Regions from separate parts of the Homo sapiens genome. Here region 2 is linked to region 1. The links are contacts of gene promoters, found by promoter capture Hi-C in blood cells and fetal thymus (Javierre and others, 2016). All regions are on one chromosome and are shown on one strand. The core of a region is centred on a gene start or on the middle of the fragment in contact, and the rest is flanking DNA. Distances in the headings are between cores, read along the strand shown.

The links. Contacts are between HindIII fragments. The CHiCAGO score rates a contact against its expected background, and 5 or more counts as called.
Region 2: a contact is called between a fragment that was not itself captured here and the fragment with the promoter of RBM46 in region 1, in 2 of 17 cell types (megakaryocytes and endothelial precursors). The highest score is 9.3, in megakaryocytes.

The regions. Positions count from the first base shown.
Region 1 is chr4:154,778,580-154,785,857 of GRCh38, reverse strand. It overlaps RBM46 (RNA binding motif protein 46), which reads right to left and starts at 4,586. Exons shown (of 5, transcript NM_144979.5): 1 at 4,422-4,586. It overlaps LOC105377500 (a long non-coding RNA gene), which reads left to right and starts at 3,985. Exons shown (of 4, transcript NR_188451.1): 1 at 3,985-4,069. The HindIII fragment of the contact is 3,692 bases long and covers 3,487-7,178 here.
Region 2 is chr4:154,553,866-154,561,143 of GRCh38, reverse strand. It overlaps the pseudogene LOC100422640. Among named protein-coding and RNA genes, the nearest start is that of FGB, 5.5 kb to the left of the region's middle. The HindIII fragment of the contact is 2,472 bases long and covers 2,872-5,343 here.

The DNA.
Region 1 (7,278 bases), core at 3,337-5,836:
ATACGGTGAAGAGTCCTGCTTAAAGTCACAAAATTAGTAATCGAAAAGACCAAGGGCCCAAACCATGGAGCCTCAGAAATTCATAACTCTGAACTCTCTTCAATAATTTAGTCCAGAGAGTCTTCAATGGCCTCGACATCCCACAGGACATCATACTGGCCCACTACACTAAAGATCATGTTGATAAAATGTGAATAGGGAATTGTGACATTTGTATTTTTTTAAACATGCTACAGGAAAAACAGTGAGAGAAAAAACAAGAATCTAGTTAAGACTGTTGCAAAAGTTTTTGCCATTAAAAGTAATGGCAAAAACTGTGATTACTTTTGCACCAATCTTAATATGGTACCTTACATATGCTACTTACTGGTTATAGAAATAATAAATATGCTCCCGTTTTATCCAAAATGTAGAATTTAACTTAATAAACAAGACTTTTTTTTTTTTTAACTACAATTCACAGCTAGCTCCAAATGGCTGATTTCTGCAATCCAACCCATCTCTACAATTACCTTACAGACCTATTTTTTGGGTTAATTCATGTCTCTAAAGTTCTATTTTTAAAGAGATTATTTAGGTTCTTACAATGAAATAACATGCCAGTCCATACACATTAAAGGCTCCTTTTACTAGATAATGACTAGAAACATATGCTAGACTTTGTACATCTCAAGAAATCTCAATCAAAATATTATGAAAGCTTGAAATTACAGAAGTAAAAGACACACTGAAGAGTCACCAATCCTATATTCTCTTTAGAAAAAAAAACCCTTATCTCAAAGCCTCCAAAACAAAATATATGCACGTGTATAATTCACAAGAAAGTTCAAAATTACCTAACTTTAACATATTAATTTAACAAAAGTTTATTTCTAAAAGAGGCAAAATTCAAGAATAGCCAGAGAAATATAATCAAATCTAAAACAAGCATACAATACATTCATTCTAAAATACTCCAGAATCAACCTGTTACCTAAATATCCAAGAAAGCACATCTGTCCTATACATTAAAGCAAAACTGACATACCAATTGAGGCTTCCAGACTTAATTTGTCCTCTGCCACTTTCAGGTGTGAAGTCACACTACAAAGCGTTCTAAAAACTTATTTCCTTACCCTGCTGACCCAAGTAATCCAAGTAAGAGAAGGAGGGATCCTGAGTAGAATGTCAAAAATGGTTTTGCAGACAAAGTGGGAATGAGAAATTAAAAGTTGTGCCATATTTAACTCTAGCTTTCAGATATGTATTTTTTTCCCTAAACTGTAGACTTTCAAAGATTCCTCTCTAGCTCACTTTCAAAAGAAAAAATAGAAGGAAAAAACCTCTCTAAGGTATGAAGCAAAAGGCCAAGACAGGATAGCAAATCACAAGCTATTCAAGTAACAATGTGAATCAAGCCTTTATCTTTAAGTGCTAACTATATCTCCTTTAATTTTAACCTTCTTAACAATTATCAAAAATATGTATTTTCAAATTTGTACTGCCATTCAAAAATAGAAAGTATATTAATGAAAAAAGACAAGCACAATTTAAGCAAAACATTAATGAAAATTATTTAAAGGAACTGTGTCAGCTGTATTAAAACTACTTCAACTGAAACTTCATCTTCCAAGTTACTGTAAAAATTTAGAAAGCTGTGAAAGAGAACATTATATAATCTTACTGTGGGTTTTAAAAACTCAATGTAATAATGAAAAAAATTAAGAATATCAAAGCGTGCCTTTATAGGGGCACATTAAATGTTTATGACATTTCTTGAATTACATGGTACTAAACTCCTGATTTGTTAGCACTGTTGTCATTGAGTATGGTACATGGAAACCATGGTTGCCAGGTCAATGGTTGCCAGGTCAATGGAGGTTTTCTGTTTGTTTTTAAGCAGCAATTCATTTTAGTGACAGACTGCACTACAGCCACTACACTTCTCGTTCTTGGAAAACGAGAAGAGTTAATCAAAAGTGTGTGGACATGGAAGTCTAAAATTATTTCGAAATAAGTGTACAGATGGATCAGTTCAATTCCATTTTAAGTTGTTTTTATTAAAGAATGAGAGCACATTTTATTGCTAGAAGTTAAATATATAATGGATAAAAGTTTTAATATTAAGTTTAAATTCTGAATGACTTAAAAATTGAACTATTTAAAAAAACTGTAACTAATACTTTTAAAAAATACTGCTTTGAACACAAAGGTGTATATGCTGTTTGAATTCAGGATAAAGATATCTACATATTCTTGTCCAAATTAAGTACACCATTCCTTACACAAGGTCCTTCATAATCTGTTATTTTAAATCTGTTACCAATTTGAACATAGAGATCACATTTTCTTGCCTCATCAATCATCGGGTAGTAAAATGAGAAATAACATTCGGCATTAATATGCAAATCTGGACAATTTTTACAGCAATTACTTGATTTGTAGTCACAAACTCTACTTAAACTGACATGTCTTCCTTCTCCTAACAATAAAATAACACCATTAAACCTGAGACTTAATTTCAGTCCATAAACTGGGTTTGTTCTCGTTATTAATAATTCTTGTTTCATAATATATCCAGTAATGCATATATTTTAAGTGTTGATATGTATTATATTTGGCAATAATATTCAAGTACATTACTCCAACCTCTTAAGTGAAAATCAGCAATCAAAGCAGTGCCTTAAGCAGAAAGCATTAATATTTAGTGATTGCAGGCAGCACTGTCATCTTTATGTCTATAAAGATGCAAACAAATTTTATTAACAATGCAAACAAATGCAGACAGATGCAAACAAAGTTTAAAGTAGAATGTTTTAAACGTGTGCCCTGAAAACAAGTCTATTATTAGACCCCCATAAGGAGATTCAATTCTGAAAAGATCCAAATGGAAGTCTGTCAAACTGTATATACATCGTGGTGATTCTTGAAACGAAAATATCTTCCCATTATTTAAATAAGCAAAATTCTACAGACCCTTGAACATGTCCTTTATATGTTATTCTCCTTATACACGCAACATATCCTGCTTCCTGGTTATAACGCCATTCTCAAACACAAAATCAGGCCAATTTTTAAGAGAAGCCAAGACTTAAAAAGCTCGGCGGCGATGGCTCACGCCTGTAATCCCAGCACTTGGGGAGGCCGAAGCGGGTGGATCATGAGGTCCAGAGATCGAGACCATCCTGGCCAACATGGTGAAACCCTGTCTCTACTAATACAAAAATCAGCTGTGCGTGGTGGCGCGCGCCTGTAGTCCCAGCTACTCCCGAGAGTTTGAGGCAGGAGAATCGCTTGAACCCGGTAGGCGGAAGTTGCAGTCAGCCGAGATCCTGCCACTGCTCTCCCGCCTGGGAGACAGAGCGAGACTCCGTCTCAAAACAAAACAAAAAACAAAACAAAAAAACTCCTTATGATATTTCCTCTTTGATATTTGCCTATATTAGGATTACCACATAACATAAAGGTTACGGGGAATTTATCAAGAATGTAAAGACAGTTAAAGCTTAAAGAACTTAAATATTACCTAAGCTAAATTTACATAGGAGAAAACTGGTGCCCAAATAAATCAAGCAGCTTCGCAATATCTCAGAATATCAACGCCAGGATTAAATGCCGCTGGTTCTGTGGTTTTTCCAGCAGCTCCAAAGAAACATTTTTAAATTAGGGGTTTAAAAACTACCAGATGTTAGGAAACAAAGGCGGTGCCACGACGTGTGCTGCCGTCCGTGTGTCGGGGGAGAGGCGAGCTATCTTCCCTGTGCACCCGCGGCCTCCCACTGCCCACAGCCCAGCACACACGAGGTACTCGGGGAAGAAACAGGGAGACAAAGGCAAAGTAAAGTTCGAGGCTCAGTCCCGGCTAGAACTCCACGCAAACGACTAGGAGCCCGCTAAAGCTCACCCAGCCTGAATTCAATTCTGAAACCAGACTGCTGAATCTCACCCAGCCGTCGGGACGCCCCAGACGGCGTCCAAAGCCTCCAGGGGACGCGCGGACCCTACAACGGCCAGGCAGCGGCCCGGGCCTGCAGCGGTCGTTGGTCGTCGGCGTAAGCGTGTCAGGAAAATAACACGAAATGCAGCACAGGTGGGAAGCGGCCGGAAGGCAGCGGGGGAGAGCGGAAATAAGGCGGAGAGCGCAGGGCGCCGCGGGGCGGAAGAGGCCGCCAGACGCCCCAAAGAGACTGGCCGCTGGGCCCTCACCATGCAGCGCCTGGGTGACGGCGAGGGCGCCTTCTGGCCGGATGCTGCCGGGGCAGGAAGCAGCGTCTCGGACACTTGCCCTCCCACTGCTCGACGGGGCTGGGGAAGGACGAGGGTGAACCCCGCAGCCACCGCCGCCAGCCCCCACTGTGTATTCGGCGTGAGAGTGAGCCGGGCACTATCCAGCCGTTAGCAGTGGTCTGGTAGTGACCCCGTTTCCCCTTTCCCCTCCTCACCCCTTCGGGTCTTCAAATGTTGGTCCTAAATCCCGGGGCCCAACGACCAAAAACCGCCGCCACCGTTTAGGGGACCAGTCGGTCAGAGCGAGGGGGGGTCGTCGCAGGGGGAGGGTAGCCCACCGGGACCGCTCGCGCTGGTCCTCGTGTCTCCACTCGTTTCCCAGCGCGCAGCGCGCGCGGTGGCCTAAGCAGCCCCACGAGGAGTGGTGCCTCATCCAATCAGGGATTAGCTTCGGGGCGGGGCGAGGAGGAGAGAGTGGGGCTAAAGTTTAAATGAGGCTCTTGGGCTAGTCAAAGTGCTTGGAGTGACAGGCATTTCGAGCAATTGGGGTGAAGAGAGCGATTTTTAGGGTGTGGGTGGGCACGGAATAATAAATGAAGGTCCTAGGTGCATTGTTTAGGTGTTTGAAGACGAGGGCTGCAGTGTGAAATTCCGCACTTAAGGGAAAACATAGATGCATCGTAATGGTTCTTTTTCTTGTTTGATGTAGTTTTCTTGTAAACTGCTAGTTTGGCGCAAAACAACCACATATATCCGGTGGACCTTTGAAATTAAGGGCTAGGGGGAGGTGGGTTATAAAGCTAAAAGATGGATTTGCAAATAGGACTAGAAGTATAAAGTATAAGTGGTTTAAATGACAATGACTAAGAAAATGGGTTAGATGAGGAGAACTAGCGATAGGCTTGACGCTACCACTAATCAGCTTGCAGGGACATTTGGCAGAGGCGAACTGCCGAACTGGGTTCTATGCTCTTGTAAAACCAACTTTCACAGATAGGGTTGTTTGGCATTCGGTATGCATAACTTCAGTTTTGCTTCCTTTGAAGACAGCTCGAAATTAAATGCAGACAAGGAAAGAAAAAACCACCTTTAGGAACCAACTATTTATGTATAGATAATATTAGATTCATGGAATATTAGACAATAAAGAACCTAGCTCATGTTGATTCTCTAATTAACAAGGAACTTCATGCCCAGAATATTCACCGAGTAACACAGATCTCCTTATTCCCAACCTCAAGGTGATTTCTTCCACATTAACTCCTAATGTATTTTCTCCATATATTCAAGGAACTAATGAATGTCTACCAATTTAAATTTTGTTAAAGTATATTTTTAATTTTTAAATATACTACAACAGTGAGGAATTAGCAGGGACTTTGGAGCCAGACAGACCCTGTTTAAAGTGGGGATTGTGAGAATAAAATAATATATGATATTACCAAATATTGAGCCAGATGCCAGAAACAATCCTAAGGACTTTTCATATTTTCATTTAATTCTCACAGTAACTTTGGTAAAGTTACTAGCCCTACTTTGCAGACGGGGAAACAGATGCAGAAACCTTAAGTAGTTTGGGCAAAGTCATATAGCAAGTAAGTGGCTCCAGTTTGAAACCTACAGACATAATTGCTATACTATACTGTCTCAAAATACGTCCAGAAACAAGTAGAAAACTTGGCATAGTACTTGATGCACACTGGAAGCTCAACAAATATTTTTTGTAAGCCGTCTGCCCTTTAGTCAATGAATACAAGTGTCATTTTATATAAGATGTATGCATTCAAAATAAAGCAACTAGAAAACCTAGACTGATAGATCTAGTTGGCTTTGTTTGACATGTCACCAATTCTGTACCTCGGGAACTGTGATTGTTATATTGATTACTATTTTTTGCTGCTCTTTTATTTCTCCAGAAAAAGATTCTCCTCATTCTTCATTTTCATGTCGGTACCTTCTCAATTCCTAGTAATTAATTCTAAATACATGTGTTTAAGGTTAAATTATCTGAAATGAGGTTAGGCATATTAGTGGCAATTTAAAACAAGTAATTTCTAGGAATGGCTGTAAGATCCTTAAGGAGTCACTAGGTGGAGATGTTGTGAGGTACAAAGATTGTTCTTGGAAATAGCCTGGAAGGTTGTTGAACATTGCTGGTTTTCTTGTTTCCCTTTTTGTCTTTTTTCTCCCCAAGTATAAAGAAAACCAAATAGACAAGGGCTTCTCAATAGGCATTACAGTCAGACCATAGAACCTTGCCATAGATGAGACAGTGTTGTTTAAAGACCCTTCCCATACTTAACATTGTATGTCATTTTGGTTAGATTTTGTCTAAGTTTTTATTATCCTAAAGTTTATTAATAGGTATACTTTTCAAATGCTATAAAAACTATTGTCTGCATGTACAATTAAAGAAATGACCTTTAACTTTATTTCTCAAGGCTCCCAGAGAAAGAGATCCAAAACACTTTTATCAGCTAGAATTCTTCAGTAACAGATTCCAAATTGGATTTGTTTTAAGATTATTTGAGCTTATGGGAAAAGGTGACCCAAATGAGTAAGAAGGAAGATGATAAGCAATGTAAAGGTGTTTGTGACTAAAAAGAAGTGTCGAAAGATACTTGGCATACAAGGGAGAAAATAGAAGGGGATCTCTGCAAACACCAGAAAGAGAAATAATAGTGACTGTGTGACATGGGAAGTAAAAGTTATCAATAAAAAATTGGAAGGAGCCGGGTGTGGTGGCACACACCTGTAGTCCTAACTACTTTGAGTTAGGCTGAGACAAGAGGATCACTTAAGCCCAGGAGTTTGAGGCTGCAGTGAGCTATGACCGTGCCACAGCACTCCAGCCTGGATGACAGAGCGAAACCCTGTCTCAAAAAAAAAAAAAAAAAAAAGGAAGAGATGCAAAATTCAAGTGGTTAAAAATAGTCTGAATACATGTATTTTCCCCATATAAAATGCAAGCTTTTATATCACTTAGAAGTTAAGATGCAAGCTTTTATATCACTTAGAAGTTATTTTCATATACATTCTGCAAAATACACCCCCTGACAAAGGAAAGAGAAG
Region 2 (7,278 bases), core at 2,858-5,357, 220 kb after region 1:
CCTCAGTGACGGGTAGTGTGATAGGGGCTGGGAATGCATTGGTGAGCAAGACAGACATAGTAGGCGTTCAATACATAATTACGGGATGAATGAGTGAACTGGCTGTCATTGGTACATGCCTCAGATGCCAAATTATGGTAGTCATTTATCGTATTTAATTCTTGAAACCACTATGTTCTACAGATGGTGAAACAGGTTCAGAGAGGTTAAGTAAACTACCCCAGAGTGTATAGGTAGTAGGTGCTGGTATGAGGACTTGACCCCTGACTGTCTGACTCTACAGTCCACACTCTGTGCCCATTACATTATATTTCCCAACAGGATACAAACATTATAAAAATTTACCTCTACCTTCTTTTTGTGTGTTTGTTCTTTTGGAGTATTTTGGCCAGCCTGTCATCTTGGGACCATAATGTATCAGGCTGACACACTCACTCATAGCTTTTACTTTCACTTATCTTTTTACCCTCATATGTGGGTATAGTATTCATGTCTGTGTGAAGCATGTGCAATGCAGTGATAATGAGTTTTTGTAATTCTAGTTCTTGTTAGATATGTCTTTTTTCTGTAGAGTTATGTACAGTTACACTGGGACTCTAAATTGCCTAATATTACAAAGAATATTATCATGTTTTCAGGGAAGAAATATATTTGCAGAGACACCGCTTATTAAGATGCTTAAATTTTTTTAGAATGTTGATGCCATTGGTGGAGGGGAAAGGGAGTACTATTTGTTCAGTTATTTTGAGGTCATCAGTGCAGTGTTCTTCATATTAGCTGATGTCATTGCATAAGTCAAGGGTAGTAAATCAGTGACAGAGAAAACAGAGATAATCTGTCCTGCCCAGCAGCTCTCTGGCTTGAAGGGCAAAGACTTGCCGATACCCATTGTCAATACACTTGTTGATACTTTTACAACTCATGTCAGGCCCAGTCTCCATAGCACAAGGCAATTTGTGCTTAACAACTATTTACAGAGCATCTACTTCATAGCAGGTAGTTTGCTGGGGGCCGGGGAGACCTTGGCGAAGCCTTAAGTCTAAAAGGAAAGACAGAAAATGAAAACTACTTACAATAATTAGTGTTGAGCCTAAGATTGGGGGAGGTGAGGCTTTGGGACTGGTAACTTAAGGATCTAACTTTCTTCAGGGGGAAACGAACTTCAAAGGAAAAGGGCTTTTAGACTTGAAACTTGGTTTGAATGACTGTACAGTTTATGTCATGCACCTGGCACATAGCCAGTATTTAATAAATATCGGTTGAGCAAATTCATGAATATATAAATGAACGAATGACTAAAAGGAATACTGATTCTCGTTGTCTAAATATGCATAGGTTTTGAGGTACTGTAATAAGTTGTTAGTCTCTGTATATATTTTCCTTGTGTTACCTTGATTAACACTGACGAGTTGGAGGCCAGGCTGGACCAGAGCTCTTGGGGCAAGCCTGAGAGCAGTGCAGTGGTGACACCTGCAATTTGTTGGTCATCTTTAGTGGGAAAGCATATGGTGGGGAAGAAATAGGAGATGACGCCATCTCTTGTGGAATGTCTCCCTCTACTGGCTTAGATGTCAGTTTCCATTTCTTATGGGAGCTGACATAGAGCATGGTAATAAGGGATAATAGGACATTTTCTCCTACAACAGGATGGAGATCACAAGAGCTAAGAAAAGATAGAGATGCTCTTCTGCTTTTGTCACATTGAGACCCACAACCATTAAGGGTGTAATGAACACCTCTGGGAGTGCTGCTCCCTTCTCCTGGAATGACCCCTAAAATGGAGGTATGAAGCTCCAGTGGTCCTGTCAGTACTACAACACCCTGACCCTCTAACCACAGGTGACCAAGCTAGGGGTAGACAGACCCTTTACGCAAGCTAAATCTACCAGATTGTCTCTCCAAATTTGATATTTGCTGGAAGAAGAAGGAGGAGGAGGAGGAGAAGAAGAAGGGGAAGGGGAAGGGGAAGGGGAAGGGAACTGGGTCAATTGGACTGATGTTATATCCATGGCAGCATTTTAGAGGGAAAGCCTACCAACTGCATCAACAGAAGTAACCAAAACGTCCAAACATAATAATTTGATTCTTCACAGCCCAGTCTGTGAGACACCTGATGTCCTTTCTATAGTACTCATTTTACCTTTCATTAACTTTGACTGAGATGATTTTTGGCATTTGTTGAGAAAATTAAGATCAAATTTTTAGGAATCAGACTGGCTGTCTTATTTTTAAGCATAAATTGCAGGTTAGAAAGAGAAGCTTTATATTCAAATAATGTAATCAATCACTAAAAGTTTTCATATATTAAGCATATGGGCTGGGCGCAGTGGCTCACAGCTGTAATTCCAGCACTTTGGGAGGCCAAGGATCACTTGAGCCCAGGAGTTCGAGACCACCTTGGGCAACGTGGTGAAACCCTATCTATACAAAAAATGAAAAAATTATCTGGGCATGGTGGCACACACCTGTAGTCTCAGCCACTCCAGCTACTTGGGAGGCTGAGAGGTGGGAGGATTGCTTGGGCCTGGGAGGTTGAGGCTGCAATGAGCTGAGATTGCACCACTATACACCAGCCTTGGTGACAAAGCAAGACCCTGTCTGTCTCTCTCTGTCTCTCTCCATCTCTCTCTCTCTCTCTCTCTCTATATATATATATATATATATGTATATATGTATGTATATATGTATTTTTTTGTAGAGATAGGGTTTCACCATGTTGCCCAGGCTGGTCTGGAACTCCTGGCATCAAGTGATCCACCAGCCTTGGCCTCCCAAAGTGCTGGAATTACAGCTGTGAGCCACCATGCCCCGCCCATATACATAATATATGAAAACCTTTAGTGATGGATTACATTATTTGAATATAAAGCTTCTCTTTCCAACATGGAATTTATGCTTAAAAATAAGACAGCCAGTCTGATAGTATTAGCAGTGAAACTCTAGGGAAAATGAGGACTTTTATTTTGGTGCATGTCAGTAACATGCATTTCAAAAATTTCAAAAATCTTTCACAATTTAATAACTAATAAGTATTACTTGAATTAGATTAACAATATTTTCTGTAAAATGTGCACAGGATTAGACAAAGGTTTAATAAAATTTTTATGAAGAGTTACAGTTTGATGAGAAAGCATGAGCCCTATAGATAAAAATGGGCAAAAGATATATATACATGTATGTATATCCATATATATATTTTAAAAAACACAAACATGTACTTGAAAAAATATGGAACCTAGATATAAATCAAAGAAAGCCAGAAAGGCTGGTTTCTAGAAACACGGATACAATGTTAGGGAAGGGGGAGACGTGGGCAGAAAAATCTCTATCCTCTCCACATAATAAAGAGGTAACGACAAACTAAGAAAAAGACGCAAGTTGAATGAGGATGGACAAAGTATGCTATTGGGTCCAGGATCTCCCTTCAATCCTTTGTTATTTGCTCAATGTTTCAATCTACTTTGCTGATATGGTTTGGCTGTGTCCCCACCCAAATCTCACCTTGAATTCTAGTTCCCATAATCCTCATATGTTGTGGGAGGGACCTGTTGGGAGGTAATTGAATCATGGGTGCAGTTACCCTCATACTGTTCTTGTGATAGTGAGTGAGTTCTCACAAGATTGAATGGTTTTATAAAGGGATTTCCCTGTTTCATTCCGCACTTCTCCTTCCTGCTGTCATGTGAAGAAGGGCATATTTGCTTCCCCTTCTGCCTTGATTGTAAGTTTCCTGAGGCCTTCCCAGCTCTGCAGAACTGTGAGTCAATTAAACTTCTTCCCTTTATAAATTATCTACTCTTGGTATGTATTTATCAGTAGTGTGAGAACAGACTAATATATGTGCTAACTAGTATTTTGTGTACTAGGTTTCCTTGTGGGGAGAATCGAGGCCCACTTTAGGTTTAGTTTAGGATGAAAATAGAAGCTGCCTGTGTTGACCTCTGACTTCTAGGTTACATTTATGCAGCTTTCTCCCCTTTTAGAACAACGGGGATAATTAGTATCATATAACTAATGTTTATGGATCAAGTAATTCTGTGCCGGTCACTGTTACTAGTACGTTACACTTAATTCTTACAATAACTCTATGAGGTAGAGTAGTACTATTATTCCCATTTTACAGATGGGAGAATTGAAGTACAAAAAGAAGAAAGTTACCCAAGATGATGCTGCAGGTAACTTGCAGAGAAGGAGTTGAATCATGGCATTCTGACTCTATACCCTTACCTACTATGATGGACAGTTTCTTCCTGTTATGTACAAAGCTATTTTTTCTCTTGTATTGATGTGGTGTTCCTACCTTAGCAAAATGAACACCTGTGTATGTATATCTTTGCATCCTTCTATGAAGATTATATATAATACATACATACATTCATACAGACATACACACTCTCACACAAACACACAAACACACATACATACATACCAAGGACATTTTTGGAAAGTAAATCCATTGTAACAAAAGGTATGCAAACAATTTTGGGGCCAGGAGTGGTGGCTCACACCTGTAATCCCTGCACTTTGGGAGGCCAAGGCAGGAAGGGTGCTTGAGCCTAGGAGTTCGAGAGCAGCCTAGGCAACATAGTGAGACACCTGTCTCTACAAAAAAATTAAAAAATTAGCCAGGCATCATAGTGCACACCTGTAGTTCCAGCTATTTGGGAGGCTGAGGTAGGAGGATCTGCCTGACCCCAGGAGGTCATCCACTGAAGTCTAGCCTGGGCCACAGAGAAAGACCCTGTCTCGAAAAAAATTGTCAGCTTATTGCTAAACTGCCTATGAAAGTGATTGCCACCATTTATACTCTCATCAATATTTAGGTTGTCCCTCATCCTTGTCATCACTTGTTGTTGTCAAATTTTAAAATTTTTTGCCAACCTATTAGGTGAAATATGTTATCTTATTGTTATTGTGATTAAAATTTCTTTCATCATGAGCACACTGAGAATCTTTTCAATTTACATATCAGCCACAATGTCAGTGGTCTTTCTGTGAACTGCCTGTCCATGTGCCTTGTCTTTTGAGTTGTTCATTTTTTCTGTTGATTCATGAGAGCTCTTTTCTTATTAAGAAAATTAGCCCTGTGGCTAACATACACATTGCCTATATTTCCCAATTTTTCATTTGTCTTTTAACTTTGCTTATGATATATGCAGACTTTGGCCTCATTTTCACTGAGTGGAATTTCAACAGCAGCATCTGCTGGGCTGACATGTTTGAAAAGGGCAGCAGATAGAATGCCTAATGCCTCTTTGAGTTCCTTCACCAGCTGCCAGGCATTCAAAGCATCACAAAAGTTTTTAAATCCAGGGGCTCCATTTAGAACTGTGATGGGAAGCTTAGGCTTCAGTGTGTATAGCTGCACAGGAGTCTGATGAGGGATCATTCTGTACTGCAAGGGCATCTGAGATATTCCTTTACTGTGCTATTTCCTGAGGTAATCTGAAATTGCTTCATCATATTGTGCCATATAAGTGAATGTGAATGCCTTCAAGACTAACTGGCACCTAGTCTCCAAGAAGGTGTCCTTACTCTTGGAGCTCTGCCTGTCTGTGGACACTGCCTCATAGTCCTCTGACACACCACTGTCACTGGATTGTGGTTTTTGGTGGCATCTCTCAGTAAAGTTACTCTACCAGTACCAATTTGCTCAACAGCCTCTCAACCATTACACCTGGAGAAGCCACTGTCTTCAGGAAGGGATAGAGATTACAGGCAACAATCAGGCCTGGCCATGTCAGCATTACCTTTTGGGATATTATGAGCCAGGATTCCAGCATGGATTTCAGGATGCAAAATTTTCACAGCATTTCAGGAAATCCTGTCAGCTCAGAGACCTCTCTGACTGCCAGACCAGCATCCCTGAGATGCTGGTCTCAGGGATTTTTCAGTCCCTCCAGAAGCAGCAGTAGTGAGGCCACATGCACAGAGAGGAGGGAGGTCCCTGATTCAGGTTTTCACGTCTCTTAATTTTTTTTTCCTTTAGGTCTTGCACATTTTAAAATTTATTGCTATTTTAAATAAAAATCCCTTTCCCTGCTGTATTTTTAACTGCATAAAGGAAAACTATTGATTTTTAATAACATTTTTATACTCAGTGAATTTTCATATTGTTTCGAATAGTTTTTTCAATTGGTTTTTCAGGTAGAAAGTCATACCGTTTGCAAATAAAGATAACTTTTCATCCCTATTTCCTATTTTACACAATTTAATTTTTTTGTCCAATTGAATGACTAGTGCTTTCATAAAAAATACACGTGGATAATAGTGGTGATGGTGGACATCCTTGTATTGTGACTAATAAGAATATTTTTAATATTTCTCTGTGAACATGATTCTGGCTTTTGGTAGCATATTTCTAAAAGAAAGCCTGAAGTGTCTAAATAGCATTATGTAATATAAATATAATGGGATCTATAAATATGAATTAATAATAATAGTAAAATATTCAATCAAATGCCTTACTCTTCTTAATTATTCATGTCAAAAGGTATTTCTGCTAACTAAACTGACTGTTGCAAATATTTCTACAGATAAATTGTATTTTGTAACTAAGTTGCTAAGTTTTATAGAAACTAAATAAAATTTAGAATTAACTTACTTAAATGTAATGGAAAATATTTTTCATTGTCATAAAATTTACAAAGATCAGAAATACAGAACTGAACAGTCCTTTTATAAGCAATTATCTGCATTACACACACAGAAAGACTGTGATTAAATTAATGGTTACTGAAATAGCAACTTTTCGGAGTGAGCACATCACACACACACACACACACACACACACACACACTCACAGACCATCCTTCCTACATGTTCAGTAGCTGCAACTCCAAATCAAAATTAAAGTCTCGGCTGGGCTCAGTGGTTCACACCTGTAATCCCAGCACTTTGAGAGGCTGAGACAGGTGGATCACCTAAGGTCGGGAGTGCGAGACTAGCCTGGCCAACATGGTAAAACCCCATGTCTACTAAAAATACAAGTAATTAGCCAGGCGTGGTGGTGCACACCTGTATTCCCAGCTACTCCGGAGGCTGAGGCAGGAGAATCATTTGAATCCAGGAGGCAGAGATTGCAGTGAGCTGAGATGGTGCCACTGCACTTCAACCTGGCCGGCAGAGCCAGACTCCGTCTCAAAAAAAATTAAGCTCTCAAAGCCACCTAAACCCATATTTAAGTGTACAATATAATAGCTTACTTATTCATTCATTCAATAAATATTGAAAACTTACCAGTTGCAAGTCAATTAGATTCTGACTGTGTGATAGTAA